Regions from separate parts of the Homo sapiens genome. Here all the other regions are linked to region 3. Evidence: promoter capture Hi-C in 16 types of primary human blood cells and fetal thymus (Javierre and others, 2016). All regions are on one chromosome and are shown on one strand. Each heading gives the region's core, a stretch centred on a gene start or on the middle of the fragment in contact. The rest is flanking DNA. Distances are from core to core; before and after follow the strand shown.

Region 1 (2,700 bases), core at 119-2,618, 2.0 Mb before region 3:
AGAGCTGAATTATGATTTGAACTCTTACTGATAGATAGGAACTCAGAAACTGCACAGAACATTTGAAGTATGTATTTGATAAAAATTCAGTGAGCCCTCTTTTGTGCCAAGTACGGTACTAGATACTATCGATACGGACAGAGTTTAGGACATGCCATTCCAAAATATGGCCTCTTGATGTTTCAGAAAAAAGCAGAAGCAGGAAGTTCTCTTTGACCTCCTCCCAAAGTTCTCCTCTGAAGCAGGTCGTAAAAGAATTATCTGATCTTTCTTTAAAGTAGGTCATAAGACCCTCATTCCAGAGACATCTTTCCTGTATCTGGAGGAAGGAATGAAGACATAGAGATGCCAAGAAGAATCTGAACAAATAGGCCTTACAAGTTGCCCCCAGTTAATTCCGATTAGATCATACCTTTGTCCAATCATACTTCTGTATGGCTGTCTACTCTTCATTAAACCTAAGTATAAAAATACACAAGTTTTCCTGTTTCTTTGGTTCTTCATTTCTGAAAACTCTCACGTCATATAAAACTTGCTCATATGTATTTTTTTTTTTTTTTGTAGAAGTCTCAGCCATGAACCTAGCAGTGAAGGAGGAAAACATCTTATGTCTTGTTCTCTACAACACAAAGATGAACATAAAGAAGAAACACAGACTCTGGCCTGGAGAAGTTCAGTGTCTGGTGGGGGAGACTGGATAAATAATTTAAAACATTTATTTAACAAATAATTACAGTGCAATATGATAAGTACAATAGCTAAAGTGTGGGCAAAGTGTCGCAGGAACAGGAATAAAGAGGAGACAACTTCCAAAAAAATCTTACATACTTAACCTTTTCCCGACATTTTGACCTGAAAATAAATCAGCATAACAACTCACAAATACAAGGGTTACATAATTTGCTTTATAAGAAGTACAGATTAGTTTTAAGTAAGATGATTTCTTTATAATGATAGCCCTGATAATTTAGTTTTTATGGACTTTTGGGATTCCATATTTATTAAGTCATCATTTGAGTCTCTCTTAGTAGATAGGATTCTCATCACACTTATTTTGGGGGATGTCATCTTACTTATTTGCCACCTAACACTGGTCATGGGCTGGTATTCAACAAAAATTTTTGAGCTAAATTAAATTTGAATATGTTATTATGGGTTAGATGAAGTAAAAAAAAATTGGGGCTGTTAATTGGTAAAATCTGAATTAGGATATTTATCTGGATAAAGTACTAAGAAAAAGGAAACCTTTACATATCTCCTTTATATAGTTAACTCCCAACACTCTACACTAAATATACTGTTTAGTATTAAAGGCTAAACTTATAATTTCTATCATTTAATATAGATATAATTATCTATTATATAGATATCTAGATATCTAGATATCATATCTAGATATCTAGATATCTATATCATATCTAGATATCTATATCATATCTAGATATCTATATCATATCTAGATATAGATAATATAGATATCTATATCATATCTATATATAGATAATATAGATATCTATATCATTTAATATAGATAATTTGTTTTTGGCAGAAAATATATATCAGATAACTACAAGCAGAAAATTCTATTTGATACAAGAAATGAATTTGGCATTTGCTCAAGATACACACACACACACACACACACAGATATGAGTATAAGCAAGGACTAAATTACAAAGCATGAATTTATCTAGAATACTGTGGTCTCAGGTATGAAGGAAGTCTTTAAAGTGCCCTATCTAAAGGATCAGCATGCAGATGGGGAATTTATTTTGGATGGTAATGGTGGCCTTCCCTTGGAACTCTTTCCTCAAATCACAGCTCATAGATAGCCAATTAGGTCAAATTGAGGTTTGAGCTTTCCAAATGGTTCTCTGTTTTTCCTAAGCAGCACCTCTTAGACCAAGAGTTCTCCATGAAAGGAGTTACCTGAACCGCCATGTAACCACTGGCTTTTCCATGCTCAAAGCCATCTGCTCATGATAATCACAGCACATTGTGTTTTCATGAAGTACTTTCACAAGGTGTTATCTCATATGACATGAATAGCTTCATCGCCAGGTTGTTAAATATCCACTTTTCAGATACAGAACTGGCTTATAACTTCTATTCAACATAGTATTGGAAGTTCTAGCCAGAACAATTAGGCAAGAGAAAGACATAAAACGCATCCAAATTAGAAGGGAAGAAGTTACATTGTCCCTGTTTTCAGAAAACAGGATTTTATATGTAAAAAAACCCCTAAAGACTCCACAAAAAACTATTAGAACTAATAAATGAATTCAGTAAAGTTGCAGGATGCAAAACCAACATATGAAAATCAGTCGTATTTCTATATGCTAATAACTAACATCCAAAATATAAATCAAGAAAACAATATTTTTTGTGGAATAACTACAAAAAGATACTTAGGAATAAATTTAGCCAAGGATGTGAAAGACCTGTGCACTGAAAACTATAAAACATTCAGGAAGGAAATTGAAAAAGACACAAATAAATGGAAAGATACCCTGTGTTTATGGACTAGAAGAATTAACATTGTTAAAATGTTCATATTCCCCAAATGACTTATGGATTTAATGCAATCCCTATCAAAATTTCAATGACATTTTTCGCAGACACAGAAAAAAATTCTAACTTTTATAGGGAACCACAAAAGACTCTGAACAGCCAAAGCAATTGTGAGCAAAAACAACACAG
Region 2 (2,700 bases), core at 139-2,638, 1.9 Mb before region 3:
GCATACACATTTATCATGGCATATTTATGATGATGTTACATGTATGCATTTTGGTCTTACTGGCTGAACGTTACTAATAATGCTTTTTTAGAGCTAGAGTAAAATGAATTTTCTATAAACACACAAATTGGATAGAGCAAATAGAATCAAGTTTGTGTTTTTTTTTTTTTTTTTGAGATGGAGTCTCACATTGTTACCCAGGCTGGAGTGCAGTGGCGTGATCTTGGCTCACTGCATCCTTCACCTCCTGGGTTCAAGTGATTCTCCTGCCTTAGCCTCCTGAGTAGCTGGAATTACAGGTGCCTGCCACCACACCTGGCTAATTTTTGTATTTTTAATGGAGATGGGGTTTCACCATGTTGGCCAGGCTGGTCTCAAACTCCTGACCTCAAGTAATCCACCCGTCTCAGCCTCCCAAAGTGCTGGGATTACAGGCGTGAGCCACTGTGCCTGGCCAGAATCAAGCTCTTAACAATTCTGCCATCAAGCCCAAGTAACTCCTTGTACCTTCCCAATACAAACCTCCCAATTCAGGTTGATTATAATATTATCTGTTATATTGTGTCATGGAATGACAAAGTTTTAAGGTATTTTGTAACCCATATGAATGTATCTCTGGAGATTATAAAAGAAATGTTTTAGAAAGTGAAATATATAGCAAATTATGCCCTTTAATCTTTAGAGGTTGTAGTTACAACATATAACCAAAAACCAAACATAAAAATTTACATATTCTTGTTTTCTTTTTTTTTTTTTTAGGAGAATTTTTTCTCTTCTATGAGCCTCAAAAAGACTACTGGGGTTTCTTAACCCCCATGACTGTGCCTAGAATCCAGGGCTTAGCAGCTGTATACAAGGACTCTATCTACTACATAGCTGGAACCTGTGGAAATCATCAACGTATGTTTACTGTAGAAGCCTATGATATTGAGCTAAATAAATGGACTCGTAAGAAAGACTTTCCATGTGATCAGTCCATAAATCCATACCTTAAACTGGTACTTTTCCAGAACAAACTCCATTTATTTGTTCGAGCTACTCAAGTGACTGTTGAAGAACACGTCTTCAGAACCAGCAGAAAAAATTCCCTTTACCAATATGATGACATTGCTGACCAGTGGATGAAAGTGTATGAGACCCCAGATCGGCTCTGGGACCTTGGCCGGCATTTTGAATGTGCTGTTGCTAAACTGTATCCTCAGTGTCTTCAGAAAGTACTCTAAATGAGTAGCAGGCCTTAGTGCATCACTGGCATCTCATTCTTAGGAAACTTGTCTTTGATACAAAAGAGTGCTGACAGTATTTCAGAAAGCTGAGAGAGTTTTATACATGGAAAATGGGTATGCTTAAAGATTGCAGGGTAGGGAGGGATTTTCCTTCATCCTTGTGACATTTCATTTCAGTAAGGAAAAGATAACAAAGTGCAATTATCAGCATTTTTTTTTCCTGGCATAAAATTAATCATTTCATTTTATAATTTTGTGATAAATAGTAACTGAGGTACCAGATGAATCAGGACAACTATGCACTCTTATAAGAGCATTTAGGGTATTATTGGGTAAAGACGTCTAAACTTGTTTGATGTGACTTTTAATTTTAAATACGGGTAACAATCTGAGGCAATATCACTAGGACTTTAGCTGTGACCTCTCTAACACAGAGAAGCACTAACTTAGATCCTCATTCTTAATATTTATATGTATCTATTTTTGTGTACTGTTTTCAAGTGTACTGAGATTTAAATGTGTTCTATTATTAGAGTAGATCGAAGAAAAAATTAGTCTCAGAAAGAGCTTTTAGTCTGATTGTTTCCATTTCCCATGTAATTTTAAGTTAAGCTAAAGTTTTAAAGTGGCAGTTTTCTGTCGATGACTTTTTCAAGTGCTAACACTGTCTCTTTTGTGAAAATCTGGAAAAGTGCTCATATTCACAGGTGGCTGGTGCTAGTCTAACTTAATTCATGTGTATAACTAGATGGATTTAAATGGTCTGAGCCTATGCCTATCTTTCAAATTGGTGTGGATTTCATGGCCATAGTACTTTACCTGTTGAACTCTTGTGATTTCACAAGATTCTCTACTTATGTGATAGGAGGGTATGGCCAGTTATTCATCTAACTGGACTCAATCTTAGAATAGTAGGAACATTATACCCAGTTTGCACTAACATGGGCCATTTGTAGCCCAACCTTCTCTTCCATCTACCTGTCCATTCATTATTGGTACAAGGAAAGGTAACTTATTTCTCTTCTGCACAGAGCATAATGTGAAGTTTTATACCTACTTTTAAAATTCTGCTTTCCAGAAACAAAATTCCTGCAGTGGTCTAATTTAATGTCTTTAAGTTTCATATTACAATTAAAACCTCATTTTTTTTTTCCATTTTTGCACTTAACAGTGATGAATACTTTTACGTTGGAATCCTCCTTCTAGCTGAAGGTGATTGAAAAGGAAAAGAGTGAGTGAACAGAACCATAGCTTTCTAGGTACTAAAGCATTTTTTGCATTTAACTGATGAAATTTCTAACAATCATCAGTTAGGAATATTAACATGAAGGATAAACCAACTTATTTGTATACCTAAGGCAGGCATTTGGATCAGTAACATGTTTTACTAAGCCTAGAGTAATTCGTAAAGGGTATAAGCATAGGACAGATTTTGCCCTCAATCACAATATTTGTATTCACTTGAAAGCAAACT
Region 3 (2,700 bases), core at 113-2,612:
CATCACATCAACCTTGCTTGTCTCAGAGGGAAGACCATTGAAAAGTTAAAAGGGAAAAGAGTTCAGGGATAAAGACGTTAAACCAAAGGGGGGTCCCTGAATCTCGGTGACGGGGGATGGGCACCAGGCTAGGTCTCGGCGAGTCCGTGAACCCGTGCATGTACATACTGCTTAGGAGCTGATTCACAGCTTTACTAAGGCTCCGTGGAGCCCCTAAACGTTAAATGATGCTGATTCGAGAAGAAAACGCACCAGCGGCACTGTGTCTGGCTTGGGCAGCCTCACCAGGTGCAGGAGATCAAGCTTTCCAGTTCCAATCCTCTCCCGAGCTCCTTGCGTAGGGTCAAGGATGCCCTCTCTTCTAGGAGCGGATTAACAGGGCAAAGTGGGAAAAAGAGCGAAAGAAATGTAGAGATGCCACCTTGGTGGGCAAATCTGAGATGCCTCCCGCGGAAAGAGACGCAACTTCCAGACCCGCTCCAGTTCTCCACTTGGGCGGGAAGCTTTGCGCTCCCAGCTGGAAGACGCCTCCCGAGCGCTCGCTGCGCCCTTCAAGCAAGATCCTAGCAACCAGAGCTTCAGGGTGGGGGTGGGGGCGGGGGGACGCTGACCGGCTCCCACCTGCTTGCTCCTAGAAAGATCCTAGCTCAGATTAAAGGGATGAAGCGCTAAGGTCGACTTGTCCAGAAAAGAGCTCACGGTGAGTTCACCACCCCCTATACCAATTCATCGAGTGGCCTCCTCCGCATCAGCAGAGCACCCCCGGGGATTCTGTCAGACATGAACCCCGAAACTGGAAGCGGCCGCTGCCTCTCTCCAGCCACACATCCTTACTTCGGAGTGCCCCTTCCAACTTCGGGTTGCACGCCGACCTCAGCACAGGCACTCTCCCCGGCGCCCCAGAGAGCCGGGATGAGGGGAGCTGCACCGAGCTGAGTTAACTCGGTACCAGCCGAGAGGCAGCGGCTGCCCACGAGACAGCACCTAAATACAGGGTCCAAATCCACCCCCACCCCATCCTCTCGCCCCTCCTTATCCCTTCCAACCCTTCTTACTCGACTAGAGCCGGCATCCAAGTCGGACCGGCGCGTCCGGAACTAGGTACTGATCGCCGCACCGGAGCCCGAGGACGCTCACCGTGCCGCCTCCCCGCGGGAGCCCCGGGAGCGGCCCATCACCTCTGCAGCCTCGCCAGGAGAAGAAAAGTTCCCACGTCTCTACCAGGAGAAGCCCGAAGCTCCTGCGGGAGAAGCCTGAAGCTGCTGCTGGAGAAGCGGCAGCTGAGGCAGGACTCCCGATGTTTGCCCGCAGCCGCGCGCGCAGTCGGTGCGCCCCGTCCAGGGCGGCGCGCAGCTAGCAGTGCGGAGCCGAGCCCAGCTAGCGCGCTGACCAGGAGGGGCCGGGCCCGCCGCGGAACGCGCTGATTGGCCGGGCCGCCCGGCTGCTCCTGTCCCTGCCTGGCCCCGCGGTCCACGTGGGCCGGCCTTCTCCCCGCCCCGCACCCCTGCTCAGGCGGCGCGCCCCCACTGCCGGCCTCCAGGCGCCTCTCCCGAGCGCCTCGCTGTGGCCACCACTCCGCAGGTGCTGAGCAAAAGGTATTCTTCCTGAATACCTGAGAGTCGCGTTGAGCTCCACATAAGGAAGACGGATTTAGGGTTCGGCTCTCACTCGAAACCATTCTCCACGCAGGACCCAAAGCGGTTTGCAAGCAGGATTTCTTAGCCACCCCGTGCAGTAGCACATTCATGAACTAATCTGGCTTCGCGTGTAATGTGCTTGTATGAGAGAGGAGAAAACTCGGCCCACGTATGAATACCTAAATACTTTTCTTTTTTAATGTATAAAATACAGCTGGGGCCGGGCTCGGTTGCTCACGCCTGTAATCCCAGCACTTTGGGAGGCTGAGGCGGGTGGATCATGAGGTCGGGAGATCGAGACCATCCTGACTAACACGGTGAAACCCCGTCTCTACTAAAAATACAAAAATTAGCCAGGCGTGGTGGCGGGTGCTTGTAGTCCCAGCTACTCGGGAGGCTGAGGCAGGAGAATGGCGTGAACCGGGGAGGCGGAGCTTGCAGTGAGCCGAGATCGCACCACTGCACTCCAGCCTGGTCGACAGAGCGAGACTTCGTCTCAAAAAAAAAAAAAAAAAAAAAAAAAATTCAGCTAAGACTTCTTTGACTCCCTCCTCCCACCCCATTCCTAGTCATGCCCTCCACTCTTCCGCAAGTGAAGTAACTGATAATCAGTGTCACTTAATGGTATTCATTTTACTGGGATTAGTTCATCTGATCTCTATTTTATAGATGAGATAACTGAAGCACAGAGAAGTTAAATCGTTTACTGAAGATTACACAGGTAACTAGTAAATCCATGCTCTTTAGTATGCAAAGCATGGCGTCGTAGAGCGGTCCCTTGAGAACACTTTAGAACTGCAGACTTTCAGGCCCCACCCCAGAAGTAGAATCTTCATTTTAACAAGATGCCCAAGTGGCTGGTGCATGCATAAAGTTAGAAAACGTTGCTCTGTACCACTATGCTGCTCACTGTCATTGGCTTGGCTTATCATCTTCTGGTCCTTTTACTCTGCATTGACATACAATTATGTGCCATCCTGCCCCTGCTGCACTCCAAAGTATGTTCACCCTTCTCTGACTCTACCCCTTGAACTAACGTATGGCAGGCCTTCTGCTTCTGTTC
Region 4 (2,847 bases), core at 227-2,726, 1.9 Mb before region 3:
CAAAATCTGGAATCATCTATCATCACTATTGGAAAAATACCCAGGAGAGCAGCAGCATCAACTTCTATTCATTAACAAAGATCTCAATACAGTTGAGCATCCTTAGTCTGAAATCCTTCAAAATACCAAATTTTTTGAGTGCCAACATGATGCCACAAGTAGAAAGTTCCATATCTGTTGAGGTGTGGGGAGCTAGGGAAGGGATAGCATTAGGAGAAATACCTAACGTAGATGACGGGTTGATGGGTGCAGCAAACCACCATGGCATGTGTATATCTATGTAACAAACCTGCACGTTCTGCACATGTATCCCAAAACTTAAAGTATAATTAAAAAAAAGTAAAAAAAAAAAAAATTCCACATCTGAAGTCATGTTCCAAGTTGCAGTCAAACACACAGTTGTACCTTTGTTTCACGAACAAAATTATTAAAAGTATTATATGAAATTATCTTCAGCTTATGTATATAAGGTATATGTGAAACATAAATGAATTCTGTGTTTAGACTTGGGTCACATCCCCAAGATATCTCATTATATATGTTCAAGTTTTCTAAAATCCAAAACATTTCAAAGTCAGATACATGGGTCCCAAGCATTTGTGATAAGGAATACTCAACTTGTACTGCTTTCCATCATATCCAAACACTCACTCTGGCCAGGTGGGGTGACTCACACCTGTAATCCCAGCACTTTGGGAGGCCGAGGGTCCAGCATTGCTTGAACCCAGTAGTTCGAGGCCAGCCTGGGCAACATAGTGAGACCCTGTGTCTACAAATGATTTAAAAATTATCTGGGCATGGTGGCACATGTCTCTAATCCCAGCTACTTGGGAGGCTGGGGTGGGAGGATCAGTTGAGCCTAGAAGGTTGAGGCTGCAGTGAACTGTGCTCTCACCATTGCACTCCAGCGTGGGCAACAGAGTAAGACCCTGTCTCAAAACAAACAAAAAACCAAACATTCATAGTTCTGCCATATTTTCTTTAAGGAAAAAACAAAATAATTTTTATTGTCATCTCATTGCAACAGTTCAAGCTTAGTAGAACCTCCTTTCTACTACTTTTGTTTCTTTACTTTTTCTTTTGAAAATGTTTAAACCTGCAAGAGTACAGTGAATTCCCACAAAGTCTTTAATTTACCAAAAGGTTGACATTTTACCACGTTTGCTATATTATTTTCTGCATATGTACTTTTATACTTATTATTAGTGCCATACCACTTGACAATAAGTAGTAGAAATCATGGCCCTTCACTTTAGCTTGTATTCCTTTTTTTTTTTTTTTTTTGAGACGGAGTCTCGCTCTGTCGCCCAGGCCGGACTGCGGACTGCAGTGGCGCAATCTCGGCTCACTGCAAGCTCTGCTTCCCGGGTTCACGCCATTCTCCTGCCTCAGCCTCCCGAGTAGCTGGGACTACAGGCGCCCGCCACCGCGCCCGGCTAATTTTTTGTATTTTTAGTAGAGACGGGGTTTCACCTTGTTAGTCAGGATGGTCTCGATCTCCTGACCTCATGATCCACCCGCCTCGGCCTCCCAAAGTGCTGGGATTACAGGCGTGAGCCACCGCACCCGGCCTTTAGCTTGTATTCTTTTAGAACAAAGGCATTTACCTAATAAACAGGGCCTAGAGGGTGAAAGGAAGAAATGGCTGGTATTCACCAAGGACAGATACAAAAGGGACCAATTTTTTGACGAAGAATTTGCACAGCAATTAAATTTCCCCTGTGACTGCAGGAACCTTGTAAGTAAAAGAATTTCAAACTGAGCTTAGGCATGCTCCTTTGACCTGTTTTAGCCTGAGCAATTAATAAAGTGTTTGGATTGTATTTGCACTACAAGCCTCAACTCCCTGAAGAGTAAGTAGGCTAACACACAGGTGGAAAAATTAGCAATTTATTGATTCGGTACATTCCAAACATAGTTGAAGCTTTCTTAAGCTGTTTCTAAGACCCCAAGCTGTGTGCATTCTTGTGATCATATTGGCTCCCTCTCAGCCATCGGGATTAACATACTGCTGGGCCAGGGTTTGCCTTCTGATTCACAAATTAACAACCCACAAATATCCTTTTGCCAGGTAGTCAGTTCCGGAGTCAGTTCTTCTGCAAGGCTTGAGGCTCAGACTAGGAAACAAAACTTACCCTCTGGGAAATAACATTAAACCTAAATTCTAACACAATTTGATGCTGAAAGATCAAAGATTCCTCAGTGTAGTTTACTAATAGTTCCCCACCGTTAAGTATAAAAAATTCCTTCCACATGCCTTTCGCCTCTGCATTCAACTGTGTTTGACAAAGCCTGTCTCACAAACTCAATTAGAACCACTGAGCTTAAACACACCCCTTTCCTTGGTCACTTACAGTAGATCTTTTCCTGACTGCTCCTATCGTGGCAGGGACTGCTCTTAGAAAAATGTGCTCTTGTAAAAAAGATCTCACAATAGCTCTCACATGAAGCTTATCGTCAATGGTCAGTGTCCGATTATGTCATGCCGTGTTGTTTTTCCAATGGGACAGACTGCTGCTTTCATCAAGTTGGAGGATATATTTATGGTACTGTTTTGAAGGGCAGTGTTTTAAGTTTGAATTACAAGATATTTTTGAAAATATAGTCAACTCTTTCATTTGGAGCTCAAAATGAATATACTAAATCTGCACTTCTGAATAGAAGTCCATATGCCTGGACATAAAATGTGCAGTGATAGAGCACAGTGGGACTTCATGAGTATTGGTGTATATAGTCTCAACTATAGACATTTCGAAGGCATAATTTTCATTTCAATAGATTAAGGCATGTGTGTGAGAAAAGCGTGAAAATTATAAGAGCCCAGAGTTCTTAACTATTGACATTTGG
Region 5 (2,700 bases), core at 131-2,630, 1.9 Mb before region 3:
AAGTTGAAACAGTGATTTGTGTTAAACACACGTTGTACCAGTTTTTTCCCAAGGTTATTTTTGAACTCTTAATGTTTAATAACTGTACAAGGAAATGCAATTTTTTAAAAAAGTAACACTATAGTAGTGTTGACTTATCTTTGTGGGGCTCAAATGTTAGTTTATTCAGCAACTCTTTATTGTGCTCCTAATATGTGCCAGGCAATGCAATACAGCAGTGAAGACCTCAGTAATGATCTTGATCTCTTGCCACTTATGGTTTAATAGGAGGTACAGATAAACCTTCAACTAAATCATACAACAGAGCTAGGCTGTGAAAGAGGAAATGCAGGTGGAAGCTGTACCTATCTAACCCAGGCTGCTAAGCTGAGTCCTGAAGATAAGACGGAGGAGTTTGCTAGGCATAACAGAGTGGGAAGTGTGGTGCATACATAAAAGGTACAGAGGTACAAAGGTACAGAGGAGAAAGAAATGTGCATTCCGAAATGGAAGGAAGTTCATCATGGTGGAGATGAGTTGAGAGAATGAAGGACTATAAATGAGTGGTTCTTAATCAAGGCAGACTTTGGCCCCAGGGAACATTTGTCAATTTCTGGCAACACTTTTGGTGTCACAAGTGGCAGAGGGGGCTGCTATTAGCTTGTAGTGGGTAGAGGTCAGGGAAGCTGCTAAACATCCGCCAGTGCACAGGACAGCCTCCACAACAAAGACCAGCTCTCAAGGTCAGTAATGCTTAAGCTAAGAAACTCTGTAATATTAAAAGATAAACCTGTACACTTGGGGTTAGATTACAAAGCTACTGAAGGAATTTGGGATTTATTCTAGGAATTTGGGGGCACCACTGAAAGATTTTAAGCACATGTTGTTTGTCACTCTGAGAACCACTTTATTGTTATGGCTGAACCTCAGTATTTTAAAATCTATACTAAGTCTCACTCATGTGGGCTAACCATTGTGCCTACTACAAATGACATCTCCCTATTTTACAAAGGTGGAAAGAGCATCATTGTGAAATGTTCGCTAAAAGTTTAAAAAAGAAGATGAATTAATTATTTGATCCTCACCAGTCACAACATAATTATTTCAAAAACGTGTATTTATTTAATTGGGCTCCTTCCTGTCACACAGGGTTGAGCGTGGGGGGTCTACTCTCATGAATCTAAAGCACTTCTGGAGATTAATGGAAAATACACTGGGCCAAGGCAAGGTTACAACCTGAAATAAATAACTAAGCTTGTACATTCAGAGCAAAGGGTTTCCTAATTTAAAAAAAAACTTAGTTCCAGACTCTTTTGAACATCTGATGACACTATGGCCTCTTTTTATTTTTATTTTTATTTTTATTTTTTTTACAGAAATATGCACTTATACTCCCAAGTATTTAACTTCAGAGGCTCACAGACCCTAGAGAGATACAGTGGCTTCTCACTTGATACTGATGTTCCTAGAAATATCTAATGGCCAGATTTATAACAATAGACATTTGCCAAAAAAAAAAAAGTATAGCATAATTTAGAATCAATCAGAGAAAGCTTAGCATTTCTTAATCAAGGAGCAACTCTTTCCAAAAATGCTCATCAAGATACCATTTACGTCAACTTGTAAAATATAAATAATGTTGCATCACAGCAAAAAAAGTCTAGGGAAATGAGCAATTTTTTTATGACCCATAATGAAGACAATGTGTTGCTCTGGTTACAATAACCTCTGTGAGAAACAATTCTGTAAACCATGTGCTTTCTGCTGATTCCTTTCCATCTAATCATTACTTTCTCTAAAAATAGTGATTGATTATAGGCTCCGTGTCTTGCAAATTGGAAGAAAGGGTGAACTGATACGTGCTTGAGTTCATCACAGTTTTTTTGTTCTACAATCAAGTACCAGACTTTGGATTCCCTTTACCTTCTTTGACTGCAGATGTCCCAATGGTCTTAGTCATGACGAAACTGCCCCCAAACACCCGCATCTTATACAGACACACATGCACACACACATACACACACATATGTGTGCACACACACACACACCCTCTTCAGTTCTTTGAAGGGCTTAATGCATGCTTATATAAAGGTTTCTATCTATTTTGATGCCATCACCATTAACTCAATTCTACTTCTTGATTTGCCAGTGTGCCCTATCATTTTTCTCACTTGCTAGTTCTGTTCAGAGAATCTGTGTCAGCTTTACCTCCAATTCTCACTGTGATTTCTAGTAATCTGAACCACTTGAACCTGATTCCATTATATTGGGATTTTGTGTACTATAAATATTAGTCATAGGCCAGGTGCAGTGGCTCATGCCTGTAATCCCAGCACTTTGGAAGGCCAAGGCAGGAGGATTGCTTGATCCCAGGAGTTCAAGACCAGCTGGGGCAACATAGGGAGACCATGTATCTACAAAAAAAAAAATGTTTAAAAGTTAGCTGGGTGCAGTGACACATGCCTGTAGTTGCAGCTACTGAGGGCTGAGAAGGAAGGATTGGTTGAGCCCAGGAAGTCATGGCTGCAGTGAGCTGTGATTGTGCCACTCTACTCCAACCTGGGCAACAGAGTAAGACCCTGCCTCAAAAAATAAAATAAAGTAAAATAAAATAAAATAAAATAAGTCAAAATCGAGGTATCAGTGGGGGCTGCAGTTCTCCCCTGGCACTCAGGGTCCTCTTAGGAGCTTCTTGCTTACTTGCAGAACTCATTTCCCTCT
Region 6 (2,905 bases), core at 352-2,851, 2.0 Mb before region 3:
TATTCATTAATTTACTTATATCATCATGGTCGCGCATTTCCTGTTTTATTCAGTGACTTAAAATCTGTCACTAACATGATTGACTTTGATGTTTAACTTGTCCCAGATGTGGGCAGAAATGCCTTTGTGCTGCCATGTGCCAATCATTATCTGAGCACTTCCTTGCTTTCTGGCACAAGATGTTCCAGGCTCACCTTCTTCTTTCACTGCCCTAGCCCAGATATCAGTCAATCCTCCAAGAAACCCTGAACCTTCTAGTGGAGACTATATATAGAAGCCAAGATTTGGGTGCTAGATGTGCTCATTGATATTGGTGTGTTGTTGCTCACAAGCCTTCTCAGTGGATACTGTGTGTTCTAGGGAACACATACACAAAACTGCACACATATACACACACACATATATCTATATGTGTACCAATTTAAGTCTGTGTATACATATAATACATAACCACATAATTATACCTATCTACATATATCCAGACAACTATAATTATCTCTACATATATTGATTGCTATATCTATCTATAGAAATAGATATTGATTTCTATCTATATATTGAAATTCATGAATTCATACCAATATATCTGATTTTTAATCCAACATCACAGAATCCATCCTAGTCCTTTCCCTTTCTGTATTTGTATTGTCTTTCTAAGACTAAGGAACCAGGCCCCCATAATAATTATATTTACTCATCACTGTAACCAATTTCCCAACCCATCTCTCCCATGTTGATGTCTTCTCAGCCCGCTTGGGCTCTGATTCCCCTTGTTGAGCAACCCTCTTGTGTGAAAATCCTTTTCACCCAGCTTGGGCTCTGACACCCCATGCCTGGCCACTCCCATGTATGGACATCTTCCTTACCCCACCTAGGCTCTTGCTTCCCATAGAGCCATCTCCTCTTTTATATGGGCTCTGACACCAAGCTGACTCTCTGTAAGGATGCCCTCCCCATTCTGCTTGGGCTGTGAGTCCCCATGCCTTCCCACACTCACTCGGATGCCCTCTTTGCCCTGCTTGGTCTTCAACACCCTACATCAGGCTACTCCTTCATGCAAAGCCTACCTTGCTGTGCCCTACCTAACTGCTTGTTCAAGATTGTTCAGGAAGGAAAGTAAAGGGAAACAAAGATAAACATTTCAGTTGTAATCAAGGAAATATTAAGGAAGTCTTCATTATGCTTTTGTAAAAAACAAAGTAATGCATGCAACTAATGAAAATTCAGGCAGTTCCAAAGAGCTTACTTTCCCCAGCCCACCCCTAGTTCGATTTGTCTGCATATTCAAGCGTATGTAAGTATAGCCCTTTTTTCCCCCTTTGAACACAGATGGGCTTATGTTAACTGGCCTGCCACTTTTTTCTTTTCCCATTAAATGTACTTCGGAGGTCTTCATATGGCAGCACAATGCATCTACTTTAATATTTGCATAGCTTTGTTGTTTGAATTATAAATGGATATCTGTCTTCCGCTGATAGTCATTTAGGCTTCTGTTTCTGACATTTTCTTTTTATAAGCAACGCTGTAATGTATGCCCTTGAAGAAATATCTTTGGGTATGTTTCTCATCACATTTTCAACTTTTAGAAACTTATTTAATCTCAAAATCAAGTAGTTCAAATAAATAAGGATATAAAAGGCAGACTACTTAAAAGGCATTGTATTTTATCTTAACTGCGAATTTGTTTTGTGTCATAAAATGTAGGGTTCAAAGAGCAAAATCAGATGATTCTGTCCATACACTAGAGTCTATCTAAAATCCTTTTTATAGCAGATGAGGTAACTTAAAGAACAAAGTCCAAGCAATTTAATAACAAAACCAGAGCTAGCACCCATGAGTCGAGCGAGGGCCCACACAGAAGTGAATGCCACAGGAGCAAACTTCCAACCTCCAGGAGGCAATCCTCTTCCTAATATCATTTGCAGTTCTACCTGGAACTGCATCACTTACATGCCCAGAAGCAATTGAATTCCATGTGTCTTTTACTCTTTGATACAAGTAGTGCCCTGGAGGTGGAGTCAGGTTAAACATTTTGCCCCTGTTCTATTTGTCTTCCCATGCTAAATTAATCATTCTGTTTTCAACCCTTAATTATCTTCATCATCCCCATATACATCACACTTAATGAAAGACAAGATCAATAAGGAAGAAGAAGATTGATAAAGATAAAACTGAAAACGAGACCTTAAAGATGAAGCCACCCAGAGAAGAGGATAATAAAATAAAAGAAAAAGCAAAAGCGGTTCAAAGGGGGAAAATTGCCTTCTGAGAATTGAGAAAAGGCTACCAGGGTACAGAAGATACAATAGATAAATTGGGGGCTTAAAGAGGCATACAATTTCCCCAAATAAAATATGGAATAAGAAAAACTAAGGCATATCAGGGGAAAAAGAAAAAGCAAAATCACTGGCTTATTCTTCTCCTCTAACTTAAATATTTCTTTGAGGTGTCAAGTTATTTCCCAGTAAATCTCTTAAATCATAGACTGAGTAGTCATATTCAGATTGCAGTAATCATTAAGCGGTTGTTCATCATATGATTGTCTCAACTAAATATAGAAGGAAAAATAACATAGGAATATAAGGCACATCCTCACAAGAAAGAAATCCCTATCACAACAAAACTATTTAACAAATTAACATAAATTAAAATGGTCCTCATCTTATGAAAAAAGATACATGACAATTTTTAAAAAGTATTTAATACACATCTGAAGTGGATCCTTCCTGTGTCACATCATAGAAATAGCAACCTGGAGACATTTTAAAGTTAATTTTTTACAATCCTAAAATATACCAACTCAAGTTTCCGATGATTCTTAAGGTGATAGCAGCCCCAAGGGGTTGCACTATTCTTTGTGGTTTCCGTGTGCCTTGCCTCCATGTTTATAAATAGTTTCTTTGCT
Region 7 (2,852 bases), core at 320-2,819, 1.9 Mb before region 3:
GGCCTATAATAACCGAATGATTAAAAAAAAAGAGAAAAGAGGAAGAAATAGAAGTGAGTGCTGAAAGGACACAAGAAGGCAAAAGCATAAATCAGAAGCATAAATGTGAATAATATCAGATTAATATCAGGTTAATACTGATATTACATGGAGCAGATAACAATTCACTGGATATACATGTCAGCCAACAAGTAGCCCTGACATATCAGAGTTGCCTTGGAATTAAAACCATATTATTGCAGCTGTATTAGATTCCCAAAAGATAAGCCCAGTGCTCTGAAACATTCATTGTGAAATATTCTAGATTCTAGACATTTTCAGTTAGTAGAAAATCCTTGAATCATTGCTAATTTCCACTTTAAGTTTTCCCCTCTTCTATGTGATCAACAGTTTTAGTAGACTCTGTTTTCCATTCCAAGTGATAACATAGTCTGATACCTTTTCAAATACATGCCTTGATTAGTTGGTTAGAAATATTTACTATGTGGATAAATATATTAAAATATATGGATATGTTCTAATTATACAAGCTATTTTTCTATCTAATTGATATTAACAAGACAATACTTTTTAAAACTTGTGTAGTTTTCTACAAACATCTTCTTCTCTGAAATGTGAACACGGCAGCTTTTTTTTCTAAAACCAATTTAGAATTATTCTTTGGACTGTCAACTGTTCAGAGACAATTTTGTTAATTTTAGACTGCACACTAAATATGCAGCATATTTGTGGCTAGAAATACAAAATGTAGTTAACTTTATTTCTTATAATGATTATCTTCATTGCTTTTCAAACTTTACATCATATAATCAATTTTCAAAACAGTTTGATTTGTTGGTAGTAATTTGCATTTTGTTTTTCTATTTGTTATTTCACAGAGTTAAGAATGTATTGTGATGATAGTATGCCTTAAAACATCAACATATCCTGATTTTAATAAATACTATGAGGTCTGCCATTTGAGGAGTTTGATTTGTAATTAAGTGTAGTAGCTATTTCTGTTTGCACAAAGCATAAAACGTTACAACATGTTCAAGTTTAAGTCCTTTGTTGCATCCTAAATGATTCACTCATTTTCCACAGAAAAGCCTCAATTACAAAGAACTAAAAAAATTAAATTAATAATCAGTGGAAGAGAAGTAGGTTTAAAAAGGATGCTCAAACTATATTGAAAAAAAGGATATGAGGCTGGGCGGGGTGGCTCACGCCTGTAATCTGAGCACTTTGGGAGGCTGAGGCAGGCAGACTGTTTGAGGCCAGGAGTTGAAGACCAGCCTGGCCAACGTAGTGAAATCTGGTCTCTACGAAAATTACAAAAACTAGCCAGGAGTGATGGCGTGGCCTGTAATCCTAGCTACGTTGGGAGGCTGAGGCAAGAGAATTGCTTGAACTTGAGAGTTGGAGGCTGCAATGAGCCAAGATCACGCCACTGCACTCTAGCCTAGGCAACAGAGCGAGACTCCATCTCAAAAAAAAAGAGAAAAAATGTATATGAAAAACATGTTGGGAATTCTCCACCGGAGAGAACACAAACCTACAAATACGTGAAGAATGACCAAAATGGTCTTTTGGAAAATGTTGATAAGGGTTGATGGAAGATCAATGTAGTATATTTGGAACATTCTGGACTATACAACACTAAATGGCCCTTCACTGTAGGACTACTCAGAGCCTGTGATATGTACATTGTTCATTACTGAGAAGCTACATATAAGAGCAAGCAGGGCTTCTGAAATAGTTTTGATGGTGGAAAATTGTTTGTTTCTTGGTAGTGCACCTCATAGAAGATCTGTGACAAATGCTTTGGGACATGGTGTGGTACCTATTTATGTCACCAACTTTATTATAGAATACATTTATTGAGGGCTCATTTAAATCTCAGGTCAAGTGATATTACATAAATTTCAACTCTCTATTAATATAGTCATTTATCTTTGCAGGTTAGCTTGGAACAAAATAAATTTCAACTGTTTTTGTAAAATATAAATTCTGAGTTAATAAACAAAAGATTTTAATTTTAACTTTTAAAGTCTAATTAAAATTTCCAACAGCATAAATTAATGCTGCAGAATAGAGAGTTCAGAAATAGACCTATGCAGATATGCTCAATTACTTTTTGATAAAATTACAAAGGCATTTCAGTGGATTTCACCAAAATAAAAATTTCTGCTCTGGGAAAGACACTGTTAAGAGATTGTAAAGCAAGCCACAGATTGAGACAAAGGTTTGCAAGTCATGTGTCTAATAAAGGACTTGTATCCAGAATATATAAAGAACTTTCAAAACTCAGTAATCAGAAAATAACCCAACTTAAACAATGAATGAAAGATTTGAACAAACAATTCACCATTGAAGATATGGCAAATAAGCACATGAAATGGTGTTTAATATTGTTAGTCACTGGGGAAATGCAAATTAAAACCACAATGAAATGCCACTACATATCTATTAGAATAGCTAACATAACCAACGAAGAAACAGTACCGAAAACAACAATGACAAAACTGACACCACCAAGTACTGACCAGGATGCAGGGAAACTAAAACTCTCGTACATTGTGGGGAGTTTAAAATAATAAAGCCACTTTGAAAAATAGGTTGAGAGTTTCTTATAAAGTTACATGTTCACTTATGCCATAGAACCAGTAATTCTACTTCTAGCTATTTACCGAGGAGAAATGAAAACATGGTCACACAAGAACCTTTTCATAAAGGCTTATAGCAGCTCTATTCATAATCATAAAAAATTGGAAGGAACCCTTCAGTGAGCCAATAGATAATCTGAGATGCATTCATATGGTGGAATACTACTCAGTGATAAAAAGCAAAAATATTGACACATAAACAATTTG

The links. Contacts are between HindIII fragments. The CHiCAGO score rates a contact against its expected background, and 5 or more counts as called.
Region 1: a contact is called between a fragment that was not itself captured here and the fragment with the promoter of TAFA4 in region 3, in 11 of 17 cell types (endothelial precursors, M2 macrophages, naive CD4 T cells and 8 more). The highest score is 11.5, in endothelial precursors.
Region 2: a fragment that was not itself captured here is called in contact with the fragment with the promoter of TAFA4 in region 3 in 5 of 17 cell types (M2 macrophages, M1 macrophages, endothelial precursors and 2 more); the score reaches 9.3 in M2 macrophages.
Region 4: a contact is called between a fragment that was not itself captured here and the fragment with the promoter of TAFA4 in region 3, in 3 of 17 cell types (M0 macrophages, endothelial precursors and naive CD4 T cells). The highest score is 13.7, in M0 macrophages.
Region 5: a contact is called between a fragment that was not itself captured here and the fragment with the promoter of TAFA4 in region 3, in 4 of 17 cell types (non-activated CD4 T cells, M1 macrophages, endothelial precursors and 1 more). The highest score is 8.5, in non-activated CD4 T cells.
Region 6: a contact is called between a fragment that was not itself captured here and the fragment with the promoter of TAFA4 in region 3, in 9 of 17 cell types (M1 macrophages, M2 macrophages, naive CD8 T cells and 6 more). The highest score is 16.1, in M1 macrophages.
Region 7: a fragment that was not itself captured here is called in contact with the fragment with the promoter of TAFA4 in region 3 in 4 of 17 cell types (M2 macrophages, naive CD4 T cells, M1 macrophages and 1 more); the score reaches 11.6 in M2 macrophages.

Annotation. Positions count from the first base shown.
Region 1 is chr3:66,940,302-66,943,001 of GRCh38, forward strand. The region is part of intron 1 of LOC105377144 (a long non-coding RNA gene); the gene reads right to left. Among named protein-coding and RNA genes, the nearest start is that of KBTBD8, 57 kb to the right of the region's middle. The HindIII fragment of the contact is 3,311 bases long and covers 1-2,700 here.
Region 2 is chr3:67,007,163-67,009,862 of GRCh38, forward strand. It overlaps KBTBD8 (kelch repeat and BTB domain containing 8), which reads left to right. Exons shown (of 4, transcript NM_032505.3): 4 at 760-2,700. The coding sequence ends at 1,223. Among named protein-coding and RNA genes, the nearest start is that of KBTBD8, 10 kb to the left of the region's middle. The HindIII fragment of the contact is 3,515 bases long and covers 1-2,700 here.
Region 3 is chr3:68,931,185-68,933,884 of GRCh38, forward strand. TAFA4 (TAFA chemokine like family member 4) reads right to left here and starts at 1,363. Exons shown (of 6, transcript NM_182522.5): 1 at 1,056-1,363. The HindIII fragment of the contact is 2,333 bases long and covers 502-2,700 here.
Region 4 is chr3:66,987,115-66,989,961 of GRCh38, forward strand. No RefSeq gene overlaps it. Among named protein-coding and RNA genes, the nearest start is that of KBTBD8, 9.8 kb to the right of the region's middle. RefSeq lists enhancers at 837-1,586, 1,587-2,336, 2,337-2,847. The HindIII fragment of the contact is 891 bases long and covers 1,032-1,922 here.
Region 5 is chr3:67,032,930-67,035,629 of GRCh38, forward strand. No RefSeq gene overlaps it. Among named protein-coding and RNA genes, the nearest start is that of KBTBD8, 36 kb to the left of the region's middle. The HindIII fragment of the contact is 299 bases long and covers 1,232-1,530 here.
Region 6 is chr3:66,961,052-66,963,956 of GRCh38, forward strand. The region is part of intron 1 of LOC105377144 (a long non-coding RNA gene); the gene reads right to left. Among named protein-coding and RNA genes, the nearest start is that of KBTBD8, 36 kb to the right of the region's middle. The HindIII fragment of the contact is 4,638 bases long and covers 1-2,905 here.
Region 7 is chr3:67,064,980-67,067,831 of GRCh38, forward strand. No RefSeq gene overlaps it. Among named protein-coding and RNA genes, the nearest start is that of KBTBD8, 68 kb to the left of the region's middle. The HindIII fragment of the contact is 4,397 bases long and covers 1-2,852 here.